Linked DNA regions of Homo sapiens: all the other regions are linked to region 2. Evidence: promoter capture Hi-C in 16 types of primary human blood cells and fetal thymus (Javierre and others, 2016). All regions are on one chromosome and are shown on one strand. Each heading gives the region's core, a stretch centred on a gene start or on the middle of the fragment in contact. The rest is flanking DNA. Distances are from core to core; before and after follow the strand shown.

Region 1 (4,351 bases), core at 750-3,249, 510 kb before region 2:
CCGTAAACGACTTCAGGTCCTCCACTCCCGTGAAGCTTCATTAAGGTGCCACCGGTTTCAATACAAGTGCTTTTCAATCACACCACTTTCATATAAAAGTCTATAAGGCACCTAGGGAGGAACACCGGCATTAATTTCCCCATTGTATTCCTGAATCTATTCCAAAGCCTTGGACCTTTCACAATCTTTCCAAACTGCTGATGTGACTCTTAACACAATTGAGGAGGCTACTTTACCCTGGGCTAGGGGTTCTAGTATATAACTGATTATAGCTGAACTTTTTGTAAATTCCACCTCAATTGCGTTAAACCAACACGTCTAAATGTAACACCAATTTATGAAAAACCCTCATTTGAAACTTTGAAAAAGAGGTAAAATATGGCCAGGCGCAGTGGCTCACGCCTATAATCCCAGCACTTTGGGAGGCCGACGCGGGAGGATCACGAGGTCAGGAGTTCGAGACCAGCGTGACCAGTACGGTGAAACCCCGTCTCTACTAAAAATACAAAAATTAGCCGGGCGTGGTGGCGTGTGCCTGTAATCCCAGCTAGTCGGGAGGCTGAGGCAAGAGAATCGCATGAATCCGGGAGGTGGAGGTTGCAGTGAGCCAAGATCGCACCACTGCACTCCAGCCTGGGCAACAGAGGAAGACTCTTCTCAAAAAAAAAAAAAAAAAGAGGTAAAATATAGCTCACTCTATTCAAATTTTCCAACAAGGAAAAGCTGGCTAAAAACAGAAGGGCCCACGAAACAAATATTACCTCACAATCTCACATAATTTTCCTATGTCTCCCAATTTCTCGCACCTCACACGATCTCACAATCTCTCACTACCTCACGCCGTTCCTCAACTATTAACTCATCTACATATTTTTACAATTTCATCACCTTTGTGAGACCAGTTACGATCCCACACAAAAACGTACGGAACTAATTTTGAATCAAAGCAAGAACTGCACTTGGACTTTTTTAACTCCCCAAAGGAATCATGGAGTGAAGGTAGTAGGAAACCTGGAAAACTGAAAAAAGCGTATTCCATCCTTTCTTCGCACATTATTCTTACAGCCTCCCCACTGTAAGGACCCATCAGGATGCAAGGGCGGCCTGCTTTCCCCTTTTTTCTTACATACCTTATAGAAATATTCTCGGGATCTCCGCCCTACTTATCCTAACAGCTCCTCCCCTTCCAGAGTCAGGCCCAGCAAACGCCTGCCCCTCCCCCTCCGTGTCCCCTTTCCCAATTTATTCCACACATCTCCTCCTCCAATCAGCACACCTTGTGCGGCCCTGGGCCCTCTTCCAATTCACTCGACGTTACTCCTCCGTAGTCCTGCAAAGCCAGGTTCCTCTGGCAGTCCCAGCCGGACCCGGCGTCTTCCGAATACAGTTACAAACCTCGGGTTGTGCGGTCGTATGCGCCTCCTCACGCCTATCCAAGCCTCAAGCCTGTCCCCTTCCGCCCTATCCCGCAGCCGCCCAGCCAAGCAACATTGTTCCAGACCACCCGGGCCCCGAAGAGCGGCCCCCAAGTGCTCGGCCCACCCCCAAGCACTCAGTCTCTGGCTCAGGATTCGCGCCCCGCCCTCTCCATCCTTCACGCAGCTGGCACCGACGCCTCAGCGACAGGCGAAGAGCTCAGCGCGGGAAGCGGAGAAGCAGGACGCTGGACCCGGGCGCGCTCCCCGCTCCTAACCTCCGCCTCGAAAGCGCGTTCCCTCACGCAGGGCTCCCGCCGCCGCCGCCGCCGCGCCCCCTCCCCCAGCTCTCCCGCCTCCAGCGGGCTCCTCACCTCAGAGCAGCGCCCAAGAGCCCGAGAGGAATCGGTGCTGCGCTGCTGGCGCGTCGCGTCGGGTCGCCTGGGGGAGTGGCGCCCAGGAAGGCAGCAAGCCGGGTGGCCGCAGTGGCGTCCCTCACTGAAGCGGCGTACCGCAGGCCCCGGCCAACGGCCCTCCCCTCAGCCGAACAAAAGAGCCTCGCAGTCTGCGCTGCCCGCCGCTCGCACCGCGCAGGCGCAACGACCCGCCGCACGGCACCATGGGCCTCGGGGGTCTGTCCAAGACTACAAGGCCCGAAGCGCCGCGCGCCGCGCACGCACAGTAGGCGAGGGTGGTAGGGACTTATAGTTTTTAAACTGTAACGGTGGAGAGATTGCAGCGTAGAGCGTTGTAACCTAGAATATTAGAACATATGGGCCAGGGGCAGTCGCTCACGCCTGTCATCCCAGCACTTTGGGAGGCCGAGGCGGGTGGATCACCTGAGGTCAGGGGTTCGAGACCAGTCTTACCAACAAGGTGAAACCCTGTCTCTACTAAAAATGCAAAAATTAGCCGAGCGTGGTGGCAGGTGCCTGTAGTCCCAGCTACTCAGGAGGCTGAGACAAGAATTGCTTGAACTTGGGAGGCGGAGCTTGCAGTGAGCCGAGATCCAGCCACTGCGATCCAGCCTGGGCGATGGAGCGAGACTCCATCTCAAAAAAAAAAAAAAAAAAAAATTAGAACATATGATTTTTATAAGCGAGCCCCCTGATGCTTGGCCCCCAAAAAATCAACCACTTCTGGACAGTTCTGTAATTCACATCCTCAAAATTTTTGAATCTTAGATTCTTCACCAGAACTTTATCATATCGCCGCTGCCTCAAATTTCCAATGATTTCTTAGTCCTCAATCTCTGCCTCCTCAAATCTCTGTAAAATTCCTACTCACGCCGGCACGGTGGCTCAAGCCTATAATCCCAACACTTGGGGAGGCGGAGGTGGGTGGATCACTTGAGGTCAGGGTTTCAAGACCAGCCTGGCCAACATGGTGAAACCCCATCTCTACTAAAATACAAAAATTAGCTGGGCGTCGTGGCGGGCGCCTGTAGTGCCAGCTACTCGGGAGGCTGAGGGAGGAGAATCGCTTGAACCCAGGAGGTGGAGGTTACAGTGAGCCGAGATCGCGCCATTGCACTCCAGCCTGGGCAACAAGAGCGAAACTTCGTCTAAAAAAAAAAATACTGTTCAGTGTTAAGATTACTTCCCCTTTGAGGTCTTCCCTGATTCCCTAGAGTAGGTTAGGTCCCCCCATAGGCCTCTCATAGCTTCCTGAATTTCCCCCTTTTCACTGGCTGCGCCACAAAAATGTCCTCTTTTTCATTGTAAGTTGTGCTCACCTTTTTCAGTGTCATTAATCTCCGTCAGCACCTTTCACCCAATCATCCCAAGGAAACACACAATTAGGAAAAAAACATGTTTTTAAGCCACAATATAACTAAAGTTTTATTTTTTTATTTTAAAGTATCCTTCTAATCAGGAGGAAGAGGGAAACTCTATTGCACTCTACCCCAAAAGGCAAGAGTTTGCATTTATAAGACAGTTTTGCTGATGCAGGCACTGTTCAGGGCAGGAGTTTGCATTTATAAGACAGTTTTGCTGATGCAGGCACTGTTCACGGCTCTGGAGAACTGTCATGTAAGAAAAACCCAGCCCAGCAATATCATAATAGAGTTTAGTTAAAAGGGCTTCAAGAAAGCACAGAGAAGATGAGAGGTGAAGCCAGCTGGACTTCCTGGGTCGAGTGGGGACTTGGAGAACTTTTCTGTCTTACAAGAGGATTGTGAAATGCACCAATCAGCGCTCTATACCTAGCAAGGGGATTGTAAAATATACCAATCAGCACTCTGTAAAAACACACCAATCAGCCCTCTGTAGCTAGCAAGAGGATTGTAAAATGCACCAATCAGCACTCTGCAAAATGCACCAATCAGCGCTCTGTAAAATGCAGGAATCTAAAAGTAGCCAATCACAGGGAGGATTGAAAAAAGGGCACTCTGATAGGACAGAAATAGCAAATGGGCAGGGACAAACAAGGGTGTAAAAGCTGGCCCCCTGCCCCCCACCCATTCCTGTTAGCCCGCAGCAGCAACCTGCTCAGGTCGGTTTCCACGCTATGGAAGCCTTGTTCTTTCGCGTTCTTTCGCTCTTCACAACAAATCTTGCTGCTGCTCACTCTTTGGGTCCCTGCCAGCTTTAAGAGCTGTTTTTAACACCATGAAGGTCCGCGGCTTCATTGTTTAAGTCAGGGAGACCACAAACCCACCGGAAGGAATCAACTCCGGACACAAAGAGAGCAATTCTTCCTGAAACATTTGGGCTGGGTTTCTAGGAAGAAGCAAGTGAGAAGCAAGCATCTCCTCACTTCCTCCTGTAGTGTACTGTTTTTGACTGATGATGATGAGAAAATTAGTTGTAATGATAATTAGCTACTATTAATGAGTGCTTTTTTTGTTTTTTTTCCCTGAGGTGGAGTCTTGCACTGTCGCCCAGGCTGGAGTGCAATGGCAAGATCACGGCTCACTGCAACCTCCGCCTCCC
Region 2 (4,632 bases), core at 777-3,276:
TGTTTCTCCAGCTCCTCCTGCTCGCATTTGCTGCTGGGGAACTTGTCTTTGTTGTTCTCTTTTTTCCACTTCATCCTCCGGTTCTGGAACCAGATTTTGACCTGTCTCTCTGTCAGTCCCAGGGCGTGCGATACCTCGATTCGCCGCTTACGAGTCAGATAGGGATTAAATAGGAACTCCTTCTCCAGCTCCAGGGTCTGGTAGCGGCTGTAGGTCTGTCGGCCTCGCCTGCGTCCGGCGGCTGCTGGGAATGGGGGAAAGGGCGAGACAGAGGGGAGGGGAGGGTGGGGGAGGGGGCAGGGACGGAGAAGGTTGGAAGATTCGTGAACGAGCCTGGGAGACCATTATAATAAGGGCAGGGGACCTTCTACCCCGTGCGGGGGCGGGGGGGGCGCAAGAAGGCCGCGGTCGGCGGAGGAGGAGGGGCGAGGGGGATTAGACACAAGTGAATCTAAGGGAGCCAGAAAGGGGAGCCCCCTCCCCCGGTAACCAGCACCAGAGTTGTGTAGGAGGTGGTTCAGATCTATTAGAAGTGCCATAAACTTTAGGAGGAAGGATGTGAAGGAGGGGGGAAAATAAGAATAAAAAAGCCGGGTGGGGACGAATGGACCCACCTTGAAAAGCCCCCAGAGCCTCTGCCCCAGAAGAAAAGTTTCTTCAGGGTAATTAAACTATAAAGCAATTGAGAAGTGCAAAAGTTGAGCGCCCCCACTCCCACCACCCTCTCTTCACTACCCCCCATAAAACAGTAAAAGGGGAAAAAAAGGAGGAGAAGAAGAAGAAAAGTAAGGCAGGATGAGGGGTTTATAGATTCAGGAAATGTTTCTAAGCGACCCCCTTCAAGGGAAAGAAAAAAGAAAGAAGAAAGAAAGATAAGAAAGAAAGGGGAAAAGCGGCAGGCGATCGGAACGGAGCCGGCAAGTCTTCCAGAAGCTGGAGGAAATGCGCCCCGGCCTGCCAGGCCTTGGGCCCTTCCGGCCCCCTCCTGCCCTTGTCGGCCCCGAGGCGAGCTCACCTTGCGGGCGCATCCAGGGGAAGAGCTGTGTGGGCGACGGGCTCTGCTCGGAGCCCTCGGCCTCCTCGCCCAGGCCGCTGGCGGCGGCAAGCTTGCAGTCTGCGTACTGCACCAGGTCTGGATCCTGCGCACCGAATAGGCTCTGGCGTTGCAGCGGGTCGTAGCCGTAGAAATTGCCGGGGTCCCCGTGGCACGCCACGGCGCACGGGTTCTGCTGGTAGGGAGCCGTGGACAGCGACGACGGCCCGTGGTAGAACTCCTGGATTTGCGACGGGTGCTGGAAGCTGCCGCCGCTGCTGGGACCGTACACCACGGTGGGTCGGCCGCCCAGGTCCTGGGCGAAGCCGCAGTCATAATAATTGGGGCGCAGGGACTCCCCGGTTTTGTATTTGGAGAACAGTGAGTTGACGAAATAAGAGCTCATTTTATTGAATTTTGAGGCGGCGGCGGCGGCGGAGGCTATAGTTGGGGGCTGTTGGGGAGGGGGTGGGGAGGGGGAAAGGGAGGGAGAGAGAGAAAAAAACGCGGATTCGCCGGCTCCTAGTCACCCTCGCCAGGAAAGGAGAGGGAAAGAGAGGAGGGAAAAAAAGAAAAGAAAGAAAAGGCGAAGAAGATCTCGAAGCCGACACACTTTTTGTGGTTTCCAGGAATAGAAAAGGACAGAGAAGCCTCCAAAAGTCTAAGCTTGCATGGCAGCCGCGGCTCGCTCGCCCTCCCCCCACCCCCCACCCCCCAAACAAAAATATACCACCACTTAAAGAGGTCCTCGCTTTACATTTCGAAGAAGGGATGCCAGTTCATAAACAGTTTTCGGTGATTTACTTCCCTGCAAATGAGTTGTTTCATATTTTGCACTGTCTTTTCATGATCATTTGCATCCATTAGAGACCCCGCATCCTATTGGCTTCTTCGTACTCCTCCCGGACAGAACGCAGAGCGAGGGTGAGAGCGAGAGAGAGCGAGCGAGAGAGAGAGCTAGAGCGAGAGAGCGCCAGGGAGTGAGGAGAGAGCGGAAAAAAAAAAAGGAGGGGAAGAAAAAAACACCCAGGGAGAGAGAGGGGGAGAGGGGGAGAGAGAGGGGGAGAGGGAGAGGGGGTGAGAGAGAATGAATACGGATTAAATCTGTTTAACTACCTACATTAATGAGATATCTCTCGCCTCACAACAAATCAAATACCTTCGCAGACCACCCCCAAAGACTGATGTGGGGGAGTCACGGAAAAAAACACGCACACACACATACACAACGCGCCAGGCGTAGGCACGCTGTTAATTTCGCGATTTTAACGAGGCAATTGGAGTCTTTCTAAATGTCAGGGTCGCTTCGGAAAAATGTAAAAGAACACGGTTTAATTGCGCCGAGTTTTAAAAGGTCCTATAAATGTAATTGGTATTTTAATACAAGTTATCAAATCATACAGCTTCCTCTCCTAAACGTATTTTCAAACAAACGAGGTAGTCATATTTAAAGCTTTAATGATCAATTTCCTTATTATTGATAAAGGTTTAACTATCGTGTGGAGGGAATTGGCTGGATAACCGGCCCCCCAAAAAACGGCTGTAAACTCTTTAAGAAACTATAAAACGCAATAAAGCCGGAGTCTGTTGTTGTTTATGCCGCAGCGCATAAAAGCTGTTAGCATTTTACGAGTTCTTTCCTCTACAGCTATAAAACTGCAGCTTCGATCGCCCCCGCCGCCCGATTGCAGCACGGTGGGGGTGACGAAGCCGAAATGAGAATGATTATGGGGATTTTTTTTTGGCACAAACGGTGACTTTTCTGAGATTTTCACCTCCTTCCGTCCTGGCAAGCACCTGCCCCCACCCCTTCTCTGGAGCCCCCAAAAGGTCCCTTCTCTGCCCTGCCCTCTCTGCCCTGCCCTGGCCAGTCACAAAACTTCCTCTCATTAAACAAATAAGCAAAAATTTTCTGTGAAACAGGGATCTGGGAGATCTTGAGGAGGGAACGGGAGGGAAGAAGAAACTTTCTGGTTAATGAGCAGTGGTTGAAGCACAGAGCAAAGTTCGAGCTGCCACTGCCGATTCTGCAGGTTTGTGCACTCTCTGCTTGCTGAAAAGGGGGTCTCCTGAAGGCCCTTCAGCCCATCAGCACTTTTGAGGGCAGACTTTGCATGAAGGGAGAGGGCCTGATGCCATCAGAGGGATGAAGCCCCAATGGGCTACCCGACACTTGCACCCAGGCCTTGGGACCCAGTAGCCAAGCCCAATTATTAATAGCTCCCAACCTTCCCAGGCCGACCCCCACACCTTCTGCAGTGCCTAAGGGTGAGAGGGGACCACTGAGCCCATCACTGCATCAAAAGGAAAGAAGGTTGGGTATCAGGCCCTGGCACCTGGCCTTCGTGTCCGCTGTCCTATGCTCTCAGCCACCCTAGGCAGTGCCTGCAGAGTATGTGTTGGGAGGGCATCTATTAGTCCTCAGTGTCCCCAAGACCTTTTGAGCCACTGTCACCACCTAAACTGACTTGGGTGTGGAATTCAGATAAAGCAAGGTTGCTGAGTCTCCCATTTTCTCTCCTTTCGCCTTGGGGAGCCTGTAGTTAAACCTGGCTCTCCCTGCAGACCTGGGAACCAGAGGTCTGAACACGGAAAGCTGGAACAAGCTGACTGGGTGCCACACTCTGTGGCCACTGCGTTCCCTGCCTACCCGGCTTCACGATGGTGGTGGCCAGGCTTTAGAAGGCCCCAGTCTGAGGGTCAGAACCAGTAGCCTCCTGTAGCAGTAGATTGGCAAGGGAGAGGAATGAGAGACAGAAAGAAAATTTTGAGCAACAAAAGTGGAGGCTTTACAAATATATTCAATCCATTGTTTATTCAGGAAACAGTGGTTTGTTTTTTTGACGGGCACCTTTTGGGGACCCCATACACCCCAACATTTGTAAAAATGAAACTATCACTTTTCCAAAGGGAACCTTACCAGTGAGGTCATTTGGTTCTTCAAAAGTGAACCTAGAGAATGAGAGAGGGGCTAGAAGCGGGAGAGAGATAAAGGAAAAGAGGAGGAATGGAGAGAACCAGGGCTTTGAATTTTCAGCGCGTGGCTGAGGGGACCGTGAGGCAACGGAGGGCCGAGTTAAATTGTTGCCGAAGCAAACATTTTTATCAAGTGCAGAGGATTTTATGGTCATTATTTGAAAACTCACCGGCGAGGTACAAATTCAATGGCTTGTTCTAAATCATCTCTACACCGTGCCAGAAATTCCTGATGGAAGGAAAATGTTTCTGTTATAGGAAAAAAAAAAAAAAAAAACGAAAGAGCGAGGAGACAATTTATAAACACCCAGCGGAGCGCAGATTTATTAGAGAAACTCAAGTTGAGGAGAAACTCCGCTTACCTCCTTGCACTAAGTCCTGGTGGGGGAGAGGAGAGGCTGCAGCTGGGGTGATTTTGAGGGGGTGGGAGTATCTATTGCTGGCGCAGGTTTGTCGGATGGAAGGCAGGGATCCGGCGGGGCCGGGAGGACACAGGAGATTTGGAATGCAAGGGGCTGTGAACAACCAGGGTGCGGGTCTCAGAACGAAAGTGCCCGGAGTCCAGACCTCCAGCTGCTCAATGAGGAAAGGACCGGCGCCCCCAGGTTTGCCTGCGGCCAGGG
Region 3 (4,620 bases), core at 993-3,492, 550 kb before region 2:
GGGCTGCCTGGGGGAGGCAGACATGGGAGTGCCAAGGTGGCCAGATGGTTCCAGGACTACAATGTCTTTATTTTTAACTGTTTGCCACTGCTGCCCTCACCCCTGCCCGGCTCTGGAGTACCGTCTGCCCCAGACAAGTGGGAGTGAAATGGGGGTGGGGGGAAGCACTGATTCCCAGTTAGGGGGTGCCTAACTGAGCAGTAGGGATAGAAGGTGTGAACCTGGGAGTGCTTTTATAAATTATTTTCCTTGTAGATTTTATTTTTAATTTATCTCTGTGACCTGCCAGGGAGAGGGGAGAGAGAGAGAGATGCTGTTGAGCACATGACAAAATAAAATAAAATGGATGATTCATTCTTAAGTGCACTTTTTCCCCACTTTGAATTTAAATTGAGAATAAAGGAAATGGACTCATTGTAGGGAGGACTGGCCATTGCGTGGCTAAGGCAGAGCTCACATGGGAAGATGGGTGGAGAACTGGGGAGGTTGACAGTGGGGAACTTCAAAAGGCAAGTCTTAAATATTGTATTAAACCTTGGGGGCAGGCATTAGACACCATGTACTTCATAGGGTTAGCCAGCTCAATCCTCTCAGGAAGGATTCGGAGTTTTTTTATTCTCATACAGCTAGGATAGGTGGAGGTGTCATTTAACCCAGCTCTTTACCTGTCCACCTGCTACAAACTACATTTTTAAACTCAACTGTGCTGTTATTTTTCTATTGGCCTCACCTGCCAAAGGGGTGCAGAGAATTGGAGTGTAGTTATGATGTTGAAAACCTGAGAAATCCATGGCAGCGACTAACATGTGACAAGCACTACTGTGTTAAGCAGGAGCAGGGCCACTAAAGAGAAGCAGGAGGCCAAGGTTTAGGACACTGGGAAACCTCCCCAGCTGAGGGGGCTAGAATCTGCTTTCCCTCAAACTGCTCAACTACCCGCCCTGTGAAGAGCTGTAATGTGTGAAGGTCTCTGGGATGCTGGAACTTCCACATGCCCATGTTAGGGCAGGTGTTTAGTAGATGCTGGAAGAATGAACACTCACTCAGCAGTCTTTTTATTGGCAGGGTCTTGCTTTGTCTCCCAGGCTGGAGTGCAGTGACGTGATCTCGGCTCACTGCAACTGCCACTGGGCTCAAGCCATCTTCCCACCTCCGCCTCCTGAATAGCTGGGACTACAGGCGCACGCCACCACGCCTAGGTAATTTTTGTAGAGACAAGCTTTCGCTATATTGCCCAGGCTGGTCTCAAACTCCTGGCATCAAGTGATCCGCCTGCCTCAGCCTCCCAAAGTGCTGGGATTATAGGCGTGAGCCATTGCACCTGGCTTCTGTGAGATTATTGGGCAGGGTTTAGGAGTGGAAGCTATGATCCTCTTAATGGAAGCTGTGATCTCAAACTCCTGGATACCACCCTGTAACCTGGTTCAGCTCAGTCCTTTAGTGATACTACTTCAGTAATGTTTACAATTCAGTAGAATTGTAAGAATAATGATGGTTTCTTATGTTTCAGTTTATAAGAGCCTCTCCACAACTCCCCAGTCTCCAGTTGGAAAGGTTTGGTCATATCAAACAAGAACTCTTTCCTAATTCAGAATTGACTAAAGTCTGTAAGCCAGATAAAACCAAGATACGTAAAGGGGTGAAAAAACCAAGACTAAAAATTAGTTTGAGGCCTGGTGCGGTGGCTCACGCCTATAATCCCAGCACTTTGGGAGGCCGAGGCAGATGGATCACCTGAGGTCAGGAGTTCAAACACGAGCCTAACCAACATGGTAAAACCGTCTCTACTAAAAATACAAAAACTAGGCGGGTGTGGTGGCGGGCGCCTGTAATCCCAGCTACTCAGAGACTGAGGCAGGAGAATCGCTTGAACCCGGGAGGCAGAGGTTTCAGTGAGCCAAGAGCGCGCCATTGCACTCCAGCCTGGACAACAAGAGCAAAACTTCCATCTCAAAAAAAAAAAAGGTTTCAAAAACACATACCAATACTTTAAGAAATACAAATTATATATAGAAGGGTAAACTGTGAGAAGTAAAATTAAGTTTTAATATTCTTGTACCCTTCCTAGAAATGTATGTACAGTCATGTGTTAACGGCCAACATATATTCTGAGAAATGCCTCATTAGACAATTTTGTCATAGTGTACTTACACAAACTTAAATGGTAGTGCCTACTACACACCTAGCCTATGTGCCATATAGCCTATTGCTCCTAGGCTACAAACCTGTACAGCATGTTGCCATACTGAATACTATAGGCAGCTGAAGTACAGTGATAAGTACTTGTGTATCTAAACCTAGAAAAGGCACAATATAGGCTGGGTGCAGTAGCTCAACGCCTGTACTCGCAACAAGACTGTGCAACTGCACTCCAGCCTGGGTGAAAGAGTGAGACCCTGTCTCAAAAAAAAAAAAAATACAGTATAAATAGGGTATTATAATCTTATCAGACCATAATCATATACATGATCTGTCACTCATGAAATATGCAGCACATGACTGTATATGTATTTTTGTTCAGTAATTACACTGTAACTTTTACCTTATTTTGCAACTTTTTTTTAACTTAAAAGACTTAAGAGATTTGAAAAATTCTTCTTAATCCCATTGCTAGTGTTGTCCCTGGTCTGAGTAAGAATATTTTTGTTGGCCAGGCATGGTGGCTCACGCCTGTAATCCTGGCACTTTGGGAGGCTGAGGCAGGTGGATCACGAGGTCAGGAGTTCAAGACCAGGAGTTCGAGACCAGCCTGACCAACATGGTGAAACCCCATCTCTACTAAAAATACAAAAATTAGCCGGGCATGGTGGCACGTGCCTGTAATCCTAGCTACTCAGGAGGCTGAGGCAGGAGAATGGCTTGAACCCGGGAGGCGGAGGTTGCAGTGAGCCAAGATCATGCCATTGCACTCCAGCCTGTGTGACAAAGCGAGACTCTGTCTCAAAAAAAAAGGAGTATTTTTGTTAGCAGCCCCTCCCCCTTAGAGATATGTACAGTTTTGTCTAGGATCGTGCTGATTAGCTGGGGCATGGGGCCAAGTTGGTCAGCACTGCTGTGGGGCTGACCTCTTTCTGCTGGCAGGTAGAGTGGGTGTTCCAGCCTCTTTCTGGCAGGAAGATAGGAGGACTGAAGTAAGGCCTGTGGAAGGGCTGCTACCACTAGCCATCTACCTAAGGCAGGAAGTGAGAAGATGTCCTAAGCCGAACAGGACTTAGGCTTAACAAAGGACCAAACTCTTCAGGGTGACTGACTTGGGTGGGTGTGGGAAAGCTTACTTTGTCTTGACTTCAGCAGTTGCAGGCTTCATTCAAACTGATTTTTTTCTCACATCTTACTCATGTTAAGGAGATGGAAATAGGCCCATATTTTCAACCTCTGCCCTGCATAGATCTCACCAATGAAGGTGGGGCTGTTTCAGTATCAATAAAAATAGCATAGTGAACTATAGAGGGAAAATCGTGATCTAGAGACATGCTTCAGTGTCATCAAGACTGGCCTCCATAGCTGACATTTCCCCACCTTTACTGGGGAAAGCTGAGTAATAATTAGTCCAACAGTCTGGTGAACAGGGAGGTACTTTTCATAGAGCCCTGTCAAGCTGGCCTCATCCCTGCTTTTATAACCCCCAGCTAAACCAAACCTTGCTGCCCCTCTTCACGTTTGCTTGGTAAACAGTTCCTTGTGGAAAAAAACAACATCCCCACTATCCTCAAGTCCGCCACCTACCTCATCCTGTAGGCACTGACCAAGAGCAACAACTTTAGAAGCTCACGCTAAATATAGTTTAGGGCACACCATGGTGAACAGGTGGACAGCAAGAAGCCTGTTTCCATATTGGTGTACCATATGTATACAAACACAGGTACTAGATTGGTGTCTGCTTCTGAGTCATTTTCCCAGCCAAGTATAGAAATTTTGTAGCAAAACCCATGTGCTTCATGATCATGAGTAGTTAAGCCTTGTTTTTCTATCAAAGATCCCCGTTAAGTGAAAGGGACCCACAAACCTTCAACTTGTCATTTTGTCAATATACCAAAAATAACCTTTCTTTTTACCTTTACTGTATTACACAGAAGTCAATCATCTTCCTTGCCTCCCGCTCTGAACTTTGGAGTGGAGAATGAGCCATTTGGGGACTATGGGGAAACTTACCACTATGTGTGAAACTTTACAAGTTCTAGTCCTTGTTCTGTTCAGTTCGTGTCTGCCTGAATTAGCCGAGAAACAGAATTTAGTACACGTATTGTCTCTGGAGTAGTGTGAGAATCTGGTACCTTGCAGAAGAGGGCTGTTTTCAAAAATTAGCTGGATAGAAGTCTTTGTCTTCCCTTTTGAATACACCATACCAACAAAGGTCTTAAAGCTGTTTTTTTTTTTTTTTGAGACGGAGTCTTGCCCTGTCACCCAGGCTGGAGTGTAGTGGCGCAATCTTGGCTCACTGCAAGCTCCGCCTTCTGGGTTCACGCCATTCTCCTGCCTCAGCCTGCCAAGTAGCTGGGACTACAGGCGCCCGCCACTGCGCCCAGCTAATTTTTTTGTATTTTTAGTAGAGATGGGGTTTCACCATGTTAGCCAGGATGGTCTTGATCTCCTGACCTCATGATCCGCCCGCCTTGGCCT

Evidence for each region. Contacts are between HindIII fragments. The CHiCAGO score rates a contact against its expected background, and 5 or more counts as called.
Region 1: a contact is called between the fragment with the promoter of CBX1 here and the fragment with the promoter of HOXB8 in region 2, in 5 of 17 cell types (megakaryocytes, naive CD4 T cells, erythroblasts and 2 more). The highest score is 6.2, in megakaryocytes.
Region 3: a fragment that was not itself captured here is called in contact with the fragment with the promoter of HOXB8 in region 2 in 6 of 17 cell types (naive CD4 T cells, megakaryocytes, total CD4 T cells and 3 more); the score reaches 5.9 in naive CD4 T cells.

Annotation. Positions count from the first base shown.
Region 1 is chr17:48,099,479-48,103,829 of GRCh38, forward strand. CBX1 (chromobox 1) reads right to left here and starts at 2,000. Exons shown (of 5, transcript NM_001127228.2): 1 at 1,790-2,000. RefSeq lists enhancers at 1,733-2,332, 2,159-2,418 and a silencer at 1,739-1,788. The HindIII fragment of the contact is 8,551 bases long and covers 34-4,351 here.
Region 2 is chr17:48,613,266-48,617,897 of GRCh38, forward strand. HOXB8 (homeobox B8) reads right to left here and starts at 2,027. Exons shown (of 2, transcript NM_024016.4): 1 at 1,016-2,027; 2 at 1-244. The coding sequence starts at 1,439. RefSeq lists an enhancer at 4,245-4,632. The HindIII fragment of the contact is 787 bases long and covers 1,698-2,484 here.
Region 3 is chr17:48,061,127-48,065,746 of GRCh38, forward strand. NFE2L1 (NFE2 like bZIP transcription factor 1) reads left to right here. Exons shown (of 6, transcript NM_003204.3): 6 at 1-419. Among named protein-coding and RNA genes, the nearest start is that of NFE2L1, 15 kb to the left of the region's middle. The HindIII fragment of the contact is 2,051 bases long and covers 1,218-3,268 here.